4 separate regions of the Homo sapiens genome follow, and all the other regions are linked to region 2. The links are contacts of gene promoters, found by promoter capture Hi-C in human tissues and cell types (Jung and others, 2019). All regions are on one chromosome and are shown on one strand. The core of a region is centred on a gene start or on the middle of the fragment in contact, and the rest is flanking DNA. Distances in the headings are between cores, read along the strand shown.

Region 1 (2,909 bases), core at 87-2,586, 240 kb before region 2:
TCTGCCACAGGCCACTGTGGGTCCACTCCTATTGGAGCTCTAGCACCTGTCAGCCTTCTAGGCTGGCCCTTTACTCAGCAGCAGGGCCAGGACATGGGGGCCTCAACTAGACACTGAAGAAGCAGAGAGCAGTCAGGATGTGATGTGGGGCTGAAGAGAAGGGTAGGGACTCAAGTTCATCTTCTGTGGCGAATCACCTCCTCAAAGCCCCACCTGCTTCCCCACCAACCACAAGGCTCCTCAGGCCTCCCGTGAAGGAGAGGAACCATCCAAGGACAAGCCCATTTCAGAGACTCTTGCAGGTATCACGCGAGTGGACAGACTTGAAGTGGGGCACCAGCAGTCCTAGCTTCCCTTGTGGGACACCTGGTACCATGTGCACTCTTGGCCCTTTCAACAGGTCCATGCAGCATGGCCGGAATGCCGTTTAAGGTGGAGTATAACTGCCATGTTCCCACCCAGTTCCTCTGGTGTTGAGGCCTGCAGGGACACACATCTCTGTTGGGCTCAGCTGCTGGGATCTGGAGCCCTCTGCACTACAGGAGGAATGGAGCGGCGGGGCCCCTCTGGAGCGTCCTCCAGATCCAAGCTGAAAGACAGGATGGGGTGAGTCCACTAGCCACGCGCCAGGACATGGAGCACTGGCAGGCCCGTGCCCACTAGCATGGTCAGCAAGGACAGCCAGCACCCCAGAAGACATGGTAGTATCCCTGTTTTATACAAGGGAAAACTGAAGGCTGGGCGTGGTGGCTCACGCCTGTAATCCCAGCACTTTGGGAGGCCAAGGCAGGCGGATTGTGTCTGTAATTTATTCCTTCCGGTGGGTTCTTGGTCTCACTGACTTCAAGAATGAAGCCACAGACCCTCATGGTGAGTGTTACAGCTCTTAAAGATGTTGTGTCCAGAGTTTGTTCCTTCAGATGTTGAGAGGTGTGAGTTTCTTCCTTCTGGTGGGTTCGTGATCTGGCTGACTTCACAAATGAAGCTCCAGACCTTCGCAGTGAGTGTTACAGCTTTTAAACCTAGTGCAGACTCAATGAGTGAGCAGCAGCAAGACTGATTGTGAAAAGCAAAAGAACAAAGCTCCCACAACATGGAAAAAGACCCGAACAGGTTGCACTGCTGGCTCGCATGGCCAGCTTTTATTCCCTTATTTGGCCCCACCCACATCCTGCTGATTGGCCCATTTTACAGAGCGCTAATTGGTCCATTCTACAGAGTGCTGATTGGCCCATTTTACAGAGTGCTGATTGGTACGTTTTTTACAGAGTGCTGATTGGTGCATTTACAATCCTTTAGCTAGATGCAGAGTGCTGATTGGTGTACTTACAATCCTTTAGCTGGACACAAAATTTCTCCAAGTCCCCACCCGACCCAAGAAGTCCAGGTGGCGTCACCTCTCAAGATCACCTGAGGTCAGGAGTTTGAGAACAGCCTGCCCAACATGGTAAAACCCTGTATCTATTAAAAATACAAAAATGAGCCGGGCGTGGTGGCAGGCACCTGTAATCCCAGCTACTCTGGAGGCTGAGGCAGGAGAATCGCTCGAGGCTGGGAGGCGGAGGTTGCAGTGAGCCAAGATCGCGCCACTGCACTCCAGCCTGAGTGACAGAGTGAGACTCCGTTTCAAGAAAAATAATAATAAAACAAAAAAAGAAGAGAAAACTGAAGCTGAGATTCCGCCACAAGCTCCAGGATAGCTGGTTGGCGTGCTGTGCTGCACAACCTGAAAGAAGCGCCCACCGGATGCCAGGCACCTGCCATGGACCACTTGGTCGGGAGGAAACATGATGTCCATTGTATGGATGGGATAACGAGGTTCACAGCGGTGACACCCCTAGCCCACATGGAGAGAGACAGTGAATGGCTGAGCTGGGGTGCCCCCCGTGTGAGTTAGCAAGCTCCCCTGCTCAGGCTGCTGCTGGCCCAGCCCTATGGCTAAGTGGATTCCTGCTATCGTGTGCCCCAAATACAGATTGGATGTCGTCCATCTGATTGGACCCCTGCACTGGCGAGTATCCTCCTACCCCCTTCACACCTGAGCTGACAGTGTCTGTCTCCCACACGGCAGGGTGTAGTAGAAGCATCATGAATCACACAAGGAACTGGACTCAGCCATCAGCCCTGCAGGCACCAGATGAGAGATGCTGCTCTCCCACACAGTGAGTCTCAGCTGTCCTGCTATTATTTTATATGCCAGTAAGAAACAAAAGCATGGCCACTTCCACCACGGCTCAGCAATTTTTAAAAACACCCTAATATCAGAGGAGTTACAATGTGAATAAAATACACACAGGATTGATCAAGTATGGATTTTCCAGCACACAGACAAATCTACAAGGCAGCAGCCACGTGTGCCAGGCCACAGTAAGGTATGACCTGGCCGCACTCCCTCCAGCAACCTGCAGACTCTGCTCAGGGTGGGACGCCCCATCAAAGGCCCCCACTTTCACGTACCACCATGCCCAGTAACATGGATGTCCTCCAACAAGAAGCTCGGGCTTGTGGCCTGGTGCTCAATACTGGGTTCCTTCAAATAGTTCCCAGGAAAGGCAGAGGCTGAAGGCCTCACCTGGCAGCACACGTGCCACTCGCGCCCACCCTCAGTAGCCGCATGTGGAAAAGAGGTGCATGAGCGAGGCCACAGCTCACTGCTGTGCCACTCCAGTCACAAGCCGACTGTGACAAGTTAGTTACCCAAAGACCATGGCACAAAGCGCAGATACCCAATGCAAAGGGATGGGGGCTGAGGATAAAGAATTCCAGCCCCTTCACCAAACTCACATACAGAGCTGGAGAGGGGTGGGTCCTGAGGTTGAACTCTCTAAGAGACCGGAAACAAAATAACAAAGGCTCACTTGACCATGGCACCCAAACCCGACACCACCCAACAGTGTGGCTGCTGACAG
Region 2 (2,753 bases), core at 186-2,685:
TGCAGACCAGTGGAAGGCACTGGCTGGCACCAAGGCCCGCTCCTGGGAGCCAGGCCGCGGCCCCTCCAAGGACCACAGGTGGGCAGCGGAAGACTCAGAGCAAGAGCCAGGGGCGAAGATGGCCCTCGCTGCGGTCAACCCGGAGCACGTGCTGGGGCTCACCAGCCTCTCCGCGCTGAGGACAAAGTCCGCTCCCGCCGGCTTCTTGGCTTGGGCACCGGGTACCGGGCGTCAGGGGCGAGACAGGCAGGACTTGCGCGCGCCCCGACTCGACTCCAGACCCCGACCCGACTCCGGGCTCGGCCTCCCGCGACCCCTGCGCGCACTCACCATTGTGGTTGACCCAGGTCGGCTTCAGGAGCTTCATTGTTCGGCCGCCGCCGCCGCCGGGCTGAGGCGAGCGCCGGGTCCCTCAGCGCGCCCGGGCCATGGAGCCACCGCCGCCGCTTCCTCCCGCGCCACCCGCCCTCCGGCCGCCGCCCGCCCCGCGCCCTCAGGGCCGCCGCGCCATCGCCGGCCCGCGCCCCCCTCCGCCGCCACAGCCGCCACCCGCGCTCGGCCGCCGCCGCCGCCACCACAGCCGCATCCCCTGCGCCGCTCCTCCTCAGGCGGCTCCCGGGCAACGCCGGAAGTCACGGCGCGCACCTGCCAAATCGCCCCGGCGGGAAACCGCTCCCCACGCGGACTGGGCCGCCCCGGCTCCTCCGCTGGCAGGGGCTTCGGGTCGGGCCCGGGCGCGGGCGCCCCAGAAAGGGCGGTTCGCCTGGACGGCGGACAGCGAGCGGGGCCTGCAGTTGCAACCCGGGCCGCCCGCAGAGGCAGGCGGGGCCCAGGTGGCGTGGACCGCCCGTCACCAGCTCTGCCTCGCCAGTCTGAGTCCGACTTATTAACTAGCTTCCGTCATTCATCAACACGCGCTATTGGGCATCTTGCGAGCGCCGGGCTCCGCGCCGGCGCCGGAATGCGATCCGGGCTTCGGACTCGAACGAATGCGGGGGACGAGCCAACCCTGGTGGGGGAGGCTGGGGCGGACGCGTTTATTAGAAGATCGGGGCCGTTTGCCTAGACATGAACATTTGGACTCGGAGGAGCAGAGGGACGCCCCCTCGGCCGCTCCGGCTGCACTGCGGAGCCGAGGCCCGCGCGAGGGCGCAGACCGACCAACCGGCTAGGGCCTGACTGGCTAGACTGTGCCCGCTGCAGAGGCGCGCTCCCAGCACAGGGCGGGGACGGAAGGGAGGACCCCGAGCCGCGTGAAACGCAAGGCCCTCGTGTGTGCGCAGCTGACACCCTAGGCGGGGCTGCGTCGGGGGCGGGGACAGGCGCGTCCCAGCCCACGCAGCCGGAACGCCTGAGCGCTGGGCGCCTGGTCTGCCGGACCTCAGCAGGGGGCACCGCGGGCCGGACTGTGGAGGGGCGCACGCCCGGAAGCGGCGAGGGTAGCCATGACGGCCTCCGTGCTGCGAAGTATCTCGCTAGCCCTGCGCCCGACTAGCGGGTGAGTGCGGACGCTGGCCGGATAGCGGAGTGCCCAGGGCGCGTGCGGGGTCTTCGCGACTGTCCGCCAGGACTCGCCTGTGCTCCCTGCTCGCCTCCCAGTCCACGAATATCTCAGGGATGAGCCATCTGGTCGTGACTCTTATGCATGAAAATCTGAGCACCCTGGCGAGCAGCGGTCCTGCTTAAGTCCTCTGTGGTCTGAACGAAAGATTTTGAAAAACCTTCCACGTTGACCTTGCTGTCATATCAAGTAGTTAGAAGTGCCCCGGGTTTGGGAGCATTGCAATTTTTTATTTTCCTGTGAAGTGGGAGAGAATCAGATATTTATTTATTTATTTGAGACAGAGTCTCGCTCTGTCGCCCAGGCTGGAGTGCAGTGGCGCGATTTCGGCTCACTGCAACCTCTGCCTCCCGGGTTCAAGCAGTTCTGCCCCGGCCTCCCGAGTAGCTCGGATTACAGGCGCCCAACACCACGCCCGGCTAATTTTTGTATTTTTAGTAGAGACGGGGTTTCACCATGTTGGCCAGGCTGGTCTTGAACTCCTGACCTCGCGATCCACCCGCCTCGGCCTCCCAAAGTGCTGGGATTACAGACGTGAGCAACCGCGCCTAGCCTGGAGAAGCAGATATTTATACATACTCTTGTATCTTTCAGGCTTCTGGGAACTTGGCAGACGCAGCTTAGAGAGACTCACCAGCGAGCGTCATTGTTGTCTTTCTGGGAACTCATTCCCATGAGGTAAAACTCAATCGAGGGCCTGACCTCTGGGGGTAAAGGTGTCAGTCTATGTGTAGAGAACAAAGCAAGAATGCTGGATGTGTGGTTTGCAAAATTAACAGCCTACAAAGTTTCTCAGTTAAATTTAGGCCGATGCTTTTCTGTTTTTCCAACATTTTCCAAACCATAGATTGTTGTTTGTAATTTTTAAAATTTGAGCAGTTTCTCAAGAAGTAAGTATTCTCCTTGAAGGGATTCTTGTGTGTTTTAAAGGACACAGCTTAAGTTTCTGTTTCTCCATGACCCTTCCTCTTCCCTGCCCATTCGGAGGCCCTGGAGAGTGTGGGGAAGATGCAAGTATTAAAGGTATTTCCATCTGGCACTCTCGACTCTTTGTAGATACTTGATTCAGTCAATCTTGATAGTAAAGGATTTGATTTTTCTTTTTTTTTTGAGATGGAGTCTCACTGTGTCACCCAGGCTGGAGTGCAGTGGTGTGACCTCGGATCACTGCAACCTTCGCCTCCTGGGTTAA
Region 3 (3,005 bases), core at 168-2,667, 180 kb before region 2:
ATTTTTCGATTTAGATCTTCTTTAATTACTTCCAAACATGTTTTGTAGTTTTCAGAATGTAACTTTTGCACTTTTTAAATTAAATTTACCTCTAAGTATTTTATTCTTTTTGATGTTATTATTAATGAGATTGCTTTCCTGATTTCATTTTTGGATTGTTCGTTGCAAATGTTTAGGAACACAATTGATGTTTGCAAACTGATATTGTATTCTGTAACCTTGTTCAATTTGTTTATTAGTTCTAATAGTTTTTTACTAGATTCCTTAGGATTTCCATATACAAGCTTATGTCATCTGCAAATAGAGACAGCTTTAATTCTTCCATTTAAATCTAGATGCCTTTTTGTTTTGTTTTGTTTCTGAGACGGAGTCTCGCTCTTTTGCCCAGGCCGGACTGTGGTGGTGCTATCTCGGTCACTGCAAGCTCCGCCTCCCGGGTTCATGCCATTCTCCTGCCTCAGCCTCCCGAGTAGCTGGGACTACAGGCGCCCGCCACCGTGCCCGGCTAATTTTTTGTATTTTTAGTAGAGACGGGGTTTCACCGTGTTAGCCAGGATGGTCTCAATCTCCTGACCTCGTGATCCGCCCGCCTTGGCCTCCCAAAGTGCTGGGATTACAGGCGTGAGCCACCGTGCCCAGCCTAAATCTAGATGCCTTTTATGTTTTTCTCACCTAATTGCCCTGGCTAGAATCTCTAGTCCAAAGCTGAACAGAAGTAGCAAGAGAAGACATCCTTGTCTTGTTTCTGATCCTTGGGGGAAAGCTTTCAGTTTTTCAACATGAAGTAAGATGTTAGTTGTATTTGTTGTAGATGCCCTTTATCAGGGTGAGTAAGCCAAAGTCTTAGGTCTTGTCTCCCCTGTATATCTGCAATGCCACTGCCTTCATCTAGTCACACATGCTTCATATCTTCTGGGGGTTGCAGAAATGGAACAGAGCGTTCCAGAAATGGAAGTACTCCTTCCCTGTTTGCGTATTCTTAACCTTTCTCATACATGTCTCTATTCCAGAACAGACTACATGGTTTTGTTCCTGTATCTGCCTTTCAACTAGTCTCCTGGCCTCCAGTCTTCATGGTGGTCCATCTTCAACATCAATGATAGCATTTTTTCAATTCCACTATGCTGCTAAGAAGGAAAATTAATTACATCACTCTCACTCAAAACCTGCTACATAATTCCCATTGCCTGCAGTCTGGCCCCCAATCATCTCTCTAAGTCTTGCCCCTCTAGCTACCTAATATGCTTACCTATAGGTATCATCCACGGTGGGTGACCCCAGACTCCCAGAAAGAGCCATTCTCCTCCATTCTGTGCCTTTGCATACACTGTGTCCTTCCAAAGTGCACTTTAATAGCTAGCAAAATGCATCTTAGATCCCCTGTGTTGCAGGCTGTCTTGACTTAAGCTGCTCTCTCATGGCTCCCACAGTATTCTCTTCAAACATGTGACAGTTCCTTAATTACTAGAATTGTGCAGATACACCTTCCCCACTAGGCTATAGACAAATCATTCACTGGTCATCAGGATTGAATGACGAAGATCTATGTCCCAAGTGCAAACATCCTGTAGTCCTCAAGTATCTGGTGACTGAATTAGCCACCAGGAATGAAAAAAGGGGACGGGCGCGGTGGCTCACGCCTGTAATCCCAGCACTTTGGGAGGCCAAGGCGGGCGGATCACGAGGTCAGGAGATCAAGGCCATCCTGGCTAACACGGAGAAACCCCATCTCTACTAAAAATACAAAAAATTAGCCAGGCATGGTGGTGGGCGCCTGTAGTCCCAGCTACTGGGGAGGCTGAGGCAGGAGAATGGCATGAACCCAGGAGGCAGAGCTTGCAGTGAGCCGAGATCGCGCCACTGCACTCCAGCTTGGGTGACAGAGTAAGACTCCGTCTCAAAAAAAAAAAAAAAAAAAGGGAGGACAAAAAGATACTGCTTTCAGTATAATAGAATATGAGTTAGTAACATTCCAGTAAGTCCTTAAAATACAGTCTAAGAACTACTTCTTTTTTTTCCCATAAAATTAAATGCTTTTTAGTGTTTCAAATAAGCAGCATTTACACAGAAGCAGCTCTATGTTAACCATCTAGATGCTGGGACTTTGATACAATACCTACAGTGCAGACACACGGGGGCCAGAGATGCCAGGAAGGCCGCGTTGTGTGTGGGCCGTGGTGTGTGCGGGCAGTGTGTGCAATTACCAAGGACAGGCCAGCTGACCGCCCATTTCCCCAAGACCTCCCTCCCTGCGGCAGCTGTGCACATCGGGGCCCTTTGACCCCATGGGCCACGGTCCCTCCCTGCCCTGGCTGGGACGCAGTGGGCAGGATGTCTAGCCCTCTCTCGTCTTCCCGAAGGACTACTTCTTATAAAACTATGGGTTCCAAATTACTCTATAAAATTCCTCAACAACCTCTCAAAACAGTGCTAGAAATAGTTTATACAATGAACATCAGTAACCTGAAGGAATGCAGTAGTAGTTAATAGGCCAAAGGTAAATTAAGATTATTTGATCCAAGTTCAGATTTCTTTGTAATCTCTATTTCTCTCAGTTCCAGGCCTACTTTTGCCTTATACCTATAACCAACTTTTTTTTTTTTTGAGACAGGGTCTTGCTCTGTTGCCCAGGCTGGAGTGCAGTGGCGCAATCTTGGCTCACTGCAACCTCAAACCCCTGACCTCAAGAGATCCTCCCGCCTCGGCCTCCCAAAGTGCTGGGATTACAGGCATGAGCCACCGCACCTGGCCCTATAACCAACTTCTAATGATTTAACCACTCCATTCTAATATTGGGCTTTGAAGTTACATCAGACCAGCCCCTAAAGGCAGCTCAAGGCTTACCTGAGCCGAGATGCCTACGAGCAGCAGCCACTTCTGGTACTCATCAGTCCGGTAGTGAATCACCTGGCAGCCCACCAGACTGGTATGTCTATCAAACATCTTCATGGGCTGGGAGTCACCTTCCATGCTCCAGTGGTAGACCGCGGTCTCGGTCACCAAGG
Region 4 (3,088 bases), core at 348-2,847, 220 kb before region 2:
TTAAAGTTGGGTGCTAAGGGTCATCCATGTACAGTGTTCATTTCTACTGCTATCTGGTATTCCACTGTATGACTGTACTACAGCCTACTTATTGATGGTTATCTGGATCGCTCTTAGAGCTTTGTCTTGAGTATCCCTGCACATCTCCTCATACAAATAAGCTGAGTTCCTTTAGGGCTCATAAGGAAGAGAGGAAATTGCTGGCTGTGTGCATCTTTTTTCACCAAACTGTTTCCAAATGTAACGCACATTCCCAGCAGGGGCACGTCAGAGGTCCAGCTGTTCAACATCCTCATCAGCACTGATTAGGAGAGTGGGGTTCCTGCTGCTCTGGCAGGAGTAACAAAGCATCGGATGATGCACTGTGGCCTCACTCTGTGCCTCCTTGGTGGCTGATGAGGCTGAATTCACAAGCTGCCCTTCCTCTCACCGGAGGGTGTGCTCAAGCTCTCTGCTTGGTTTCTCATTGGGTTGCTTGTGTTTGTCTTTTATTACAACTTTTCCCTACTAATTTTTTGTTGGTTGTGTTGCAAATATCTTCCCCGCATTTGTAGCTTCTCATTTGTCCATCTTCTTTACGATAAAGTGCTTAAGTTTAATACAGTCTTATTGGTTTTTCACTAAAGGTTTATTTATGGTTTCTGGTTTCTGTGACTGGCTTAAGAATTTATTAGGTCATAAGTATATTCTTCCAAGTATATACTCTAAAAATAATATATTTTGCTTTTTTTTTTTTTTTTGAGATGGAGTCTCGCTCTGTCACCCAGGCTAGAGTATAGTGGTGCCATCTCGGCTCACTGCAACCTCCACCTCCCAGACTCAAGCGATTCTCCCGCCTCAGCCTCCCGAGTAGCTGGGATTACAGGCACCTGCCATCATGCCTGGCTGAATTTTTATTTTTAGTAGAGACAGGGTTTCACCCATGCTGGCTAGGCTGGTCTCAAACTCCTGGCCTCCCAAAGTGCTGGGATTACAGGCGTGAGCCACTACGCCCAGCCAAGGCTATTTTTACCTACGCATAAAACTGTCTGGTGAAATCATCAATGAAAGAAGAGCACGAACTTGAGGTTACCTGCATGTTTGAGAAGCAAGTGTTTAAGAAGACAGCAGAGCTACAGCCACCTGTAAGTGCCTGGAAGTACACACAAACTAACAACTATCAAAGGAGGTTGATCAGACAGCAAGACAGAATATCGTAGCCACCTCAGGCACCTTAATCCTGGCATCCTGTCATTAGTCAGGGTTTATGATTCCATTAAATATAATTTCACATTCCATATGCCATTACCATATAGCATCTCCAAGTTTAAAAACACACACACAAATTCCTCTCTATAATACTACAGCCCTTGATAGCCTTTCTGGCCTACAAAATAAATCTCATAACTAAATCTTTACAGCTGCACTTATGATGTGAGTTGATTAAAATCTGACACAGAATCTCTGATGGTGAATTTTGAAGTGGAGAGGAACCCCAGGTGGCTGGCCCATGCGGAAGCACGCACTCTTACCTCTATGGTGCCTGCCCATGCAAAAGAAGCACGCGCTCCCACCTCTATAGTGCTGGTCCATGCCGAAACACACACTCCCACCTCTATACTGCCGGTCCGTGTGGAAGCGTGCACTCTCACCTCTATAGTGCCGGTCCATCGGAAGCACGCACTCGCACCTCTATAGTGCCGGGCCTGTGCTGCTGCCCCTGCCACAGCTCCTGCTCATCTGGCTTCTACATTATACTTCGGGCAAGTCTTCCCTGATACATGCCCAGATCTGGTTCTCCTGCCACCTTTCTCCAAGCTTTGTTCACCATGATTTGAAGAGTTCAACACATCCTTAGGCCACATGAGACCTTCATAAAATGCCAGCTCCCTTTCTCTGAGCATTGTGTTAAAGGACAGTGTGGGCCAGAGCAGTAAGAGGAGCGCAGGCTCCTAGAAAATGTGAAACTGAGGCTGGGCTCTGAGACAGGCAGGAGCTAATAAGGGAAGGGCTAGATTGAGGTAGAGGAGGTGGTAAGAAGATTGGCATGTCTGGGGAGCAGCCAATGGGCAGGCTGGATGGGTGAAGCGGTACGAGATTGTAACAGAAGATGAGTATCAAGCAGATGTTTTGAATCTGCCTGTGTCCACAGCTACCCCTGGCATAGCCTCACCTGTGCTCGCTGAAGACAGAGTTATCCAGAACTATCTTCTCCAGCAGTTCAATCAGTTCATTAGGCAGGTCGGCTGTCATAAAGGCTTTGACAGTGACCGAAATCTCTTCAGGATCCCGTGTTTCTGACAATGCTGTCTGTACCACCTGGTTTTAAAAAGCATTTGAAAGAACTTGATTAAAGTCAATTCAAGACTGTATCTTTGAAGCTAAACAGAAGGGAAGGACTCCTCCAAGATGGTCTGGAATAGACACAGAGAAAATGGGAGACTTCTTAATGTAACAAAGGAAGGGTTTTCAAAGTTAATTTCAGGAAATTCTGTTTGCTCTGTTTTGACAATTAGTTTTTCTCTCATATCAAATATGCTACAGACTCTTACTCAGCTCCAATGACCAGTGCACCAGGCATTTTGAAATGAATGTCTCCTTTTAGATTTGTCTCTTAAAGCCACTAATAGCAAATATGGCTCCACTTCTCTAATGAAGACACCGCAGGGGCTTCCAGCAGCCTCTTACTAGAAGAGAGCACTGCCACTGCTGTGGCACAGTCCACAGCCAGAGCTGTGGAGCCACGTGCCTTCACACCGGATGACACTCAGAACCACAATCTGAAGGAAAGACCAACAAAAGACTGGCTGTGCCACCCCTCCTCCAATTATAGGTGTCTCACATACAAAAACACTTACAAATAGGGTGGAAAGACAGTTTTCCAAAGAGTACATTTCCCATGCAACAGCAGTTTGGAACGCCAGCACTGTTCTCTTTGCACTTTGGACCAGGCACCTTCAGTGACTTCCAGAATCTAATATTTTTGCCAAGTTTCTGGTTCTCCTCAGGGGTGGGCAACAGCCGTGTATCAATGAGAGGGAAGAGACAGCTCTGGACGGTCTTTCATGGCTAACACAGCCCTCTGACCATGAACTTTCACCTAGCAATC

Evidence for each region. Contacts are between HindIII fragments. The study calls those that stand out against the background at their distance.
Region 1: a contact is called between a fragment that was not itself captured here and the fragment with the promoter of MRPL40 in region 2, in 1 of the 25 tissues and cell types used here (dorsolateral prefrontal cortex).
Region 3: a fragment that was not itself captured here is called in contact with the fragment with the promoter of MRPL40 in region 2 in 1 of the 25 tissues and cell types used here (aorta).
Region 4: a fragment that was not itself captured here is called in contact with the fragment with the promoter of MRPL40 in region 2 in 1 of the 25 tissues and cell types used here (H1 embryonic stem cells).

Annotation. Positions count from the first base shown.
Region 1 is chr22:19,192,854-19,195,762 of GRCh38, forward strand. The region is part of intron 26 of CLTCL1 (clathrin heavy chain like 1); the gene reads right to left. Among named protein-coding and RNA genes, the nearest start is that of SLC25A1, 16 kb to the left of the region's middle. The HindIII fragment of the contact is 7,428 bases long and covers 1-2,909 here.
Region 2 is chr22:19,431,110-19,433,862 of GRCh38, forward strand. MRPL40 (mitochondrial ribosomal protein L40) reads left to right here and starts at 1,436. Exons shown (of 4, transcript NM_003776.4): 1 at 1,436-1,498; 2 at 2,156-2,239. The coding sequence starts at 1,446. HIRA (histone cell cycle regulator) reads right to left here and starts at 624. Exons shown (of 25, transcript NM_003325.4): 1 at 331-624. The coding sequence starts at 367. RefSeq lists an enhancer at 1-226 and silencers at 511-910, 1,201-1,510. The HindIII fragment of the contact is 11,001 bases long and covers 1-2,753 here.
Region 3 is chr22:19,251,115-19,254,119 of GRCh38, forward strand. CLTCL1 (clathrin heavy chain like 1) reads right to left here. Exons shown (of 33, transcript NM_007098.4): 3 at 2,845-3,005. It also overlaps the pseudogene DVL1P1. Among named protein-coding and RNA genes, the nearest start is that of CLTCL1, 39 kb to the right of the region's middle. The HindIII fragment of the contact is 5,735 bases long and covers 1-3,005 here.
Region 4 is chr22:19,213,959-19,217,046 of GRCh38, forward strand. CLTCL1 (clathrin heavy chain like 1) reads right to left here. Exons shown (of 33, transcript NM_007098.4): 19 at 2,153-2,298. Among named protein-coding and RNA genes, the nearest start is that of SLC25A1, 37 kb to the left of the region's middle. The HindIII fragment of the contact is 5,984 bases long and covers 1-3,088 here.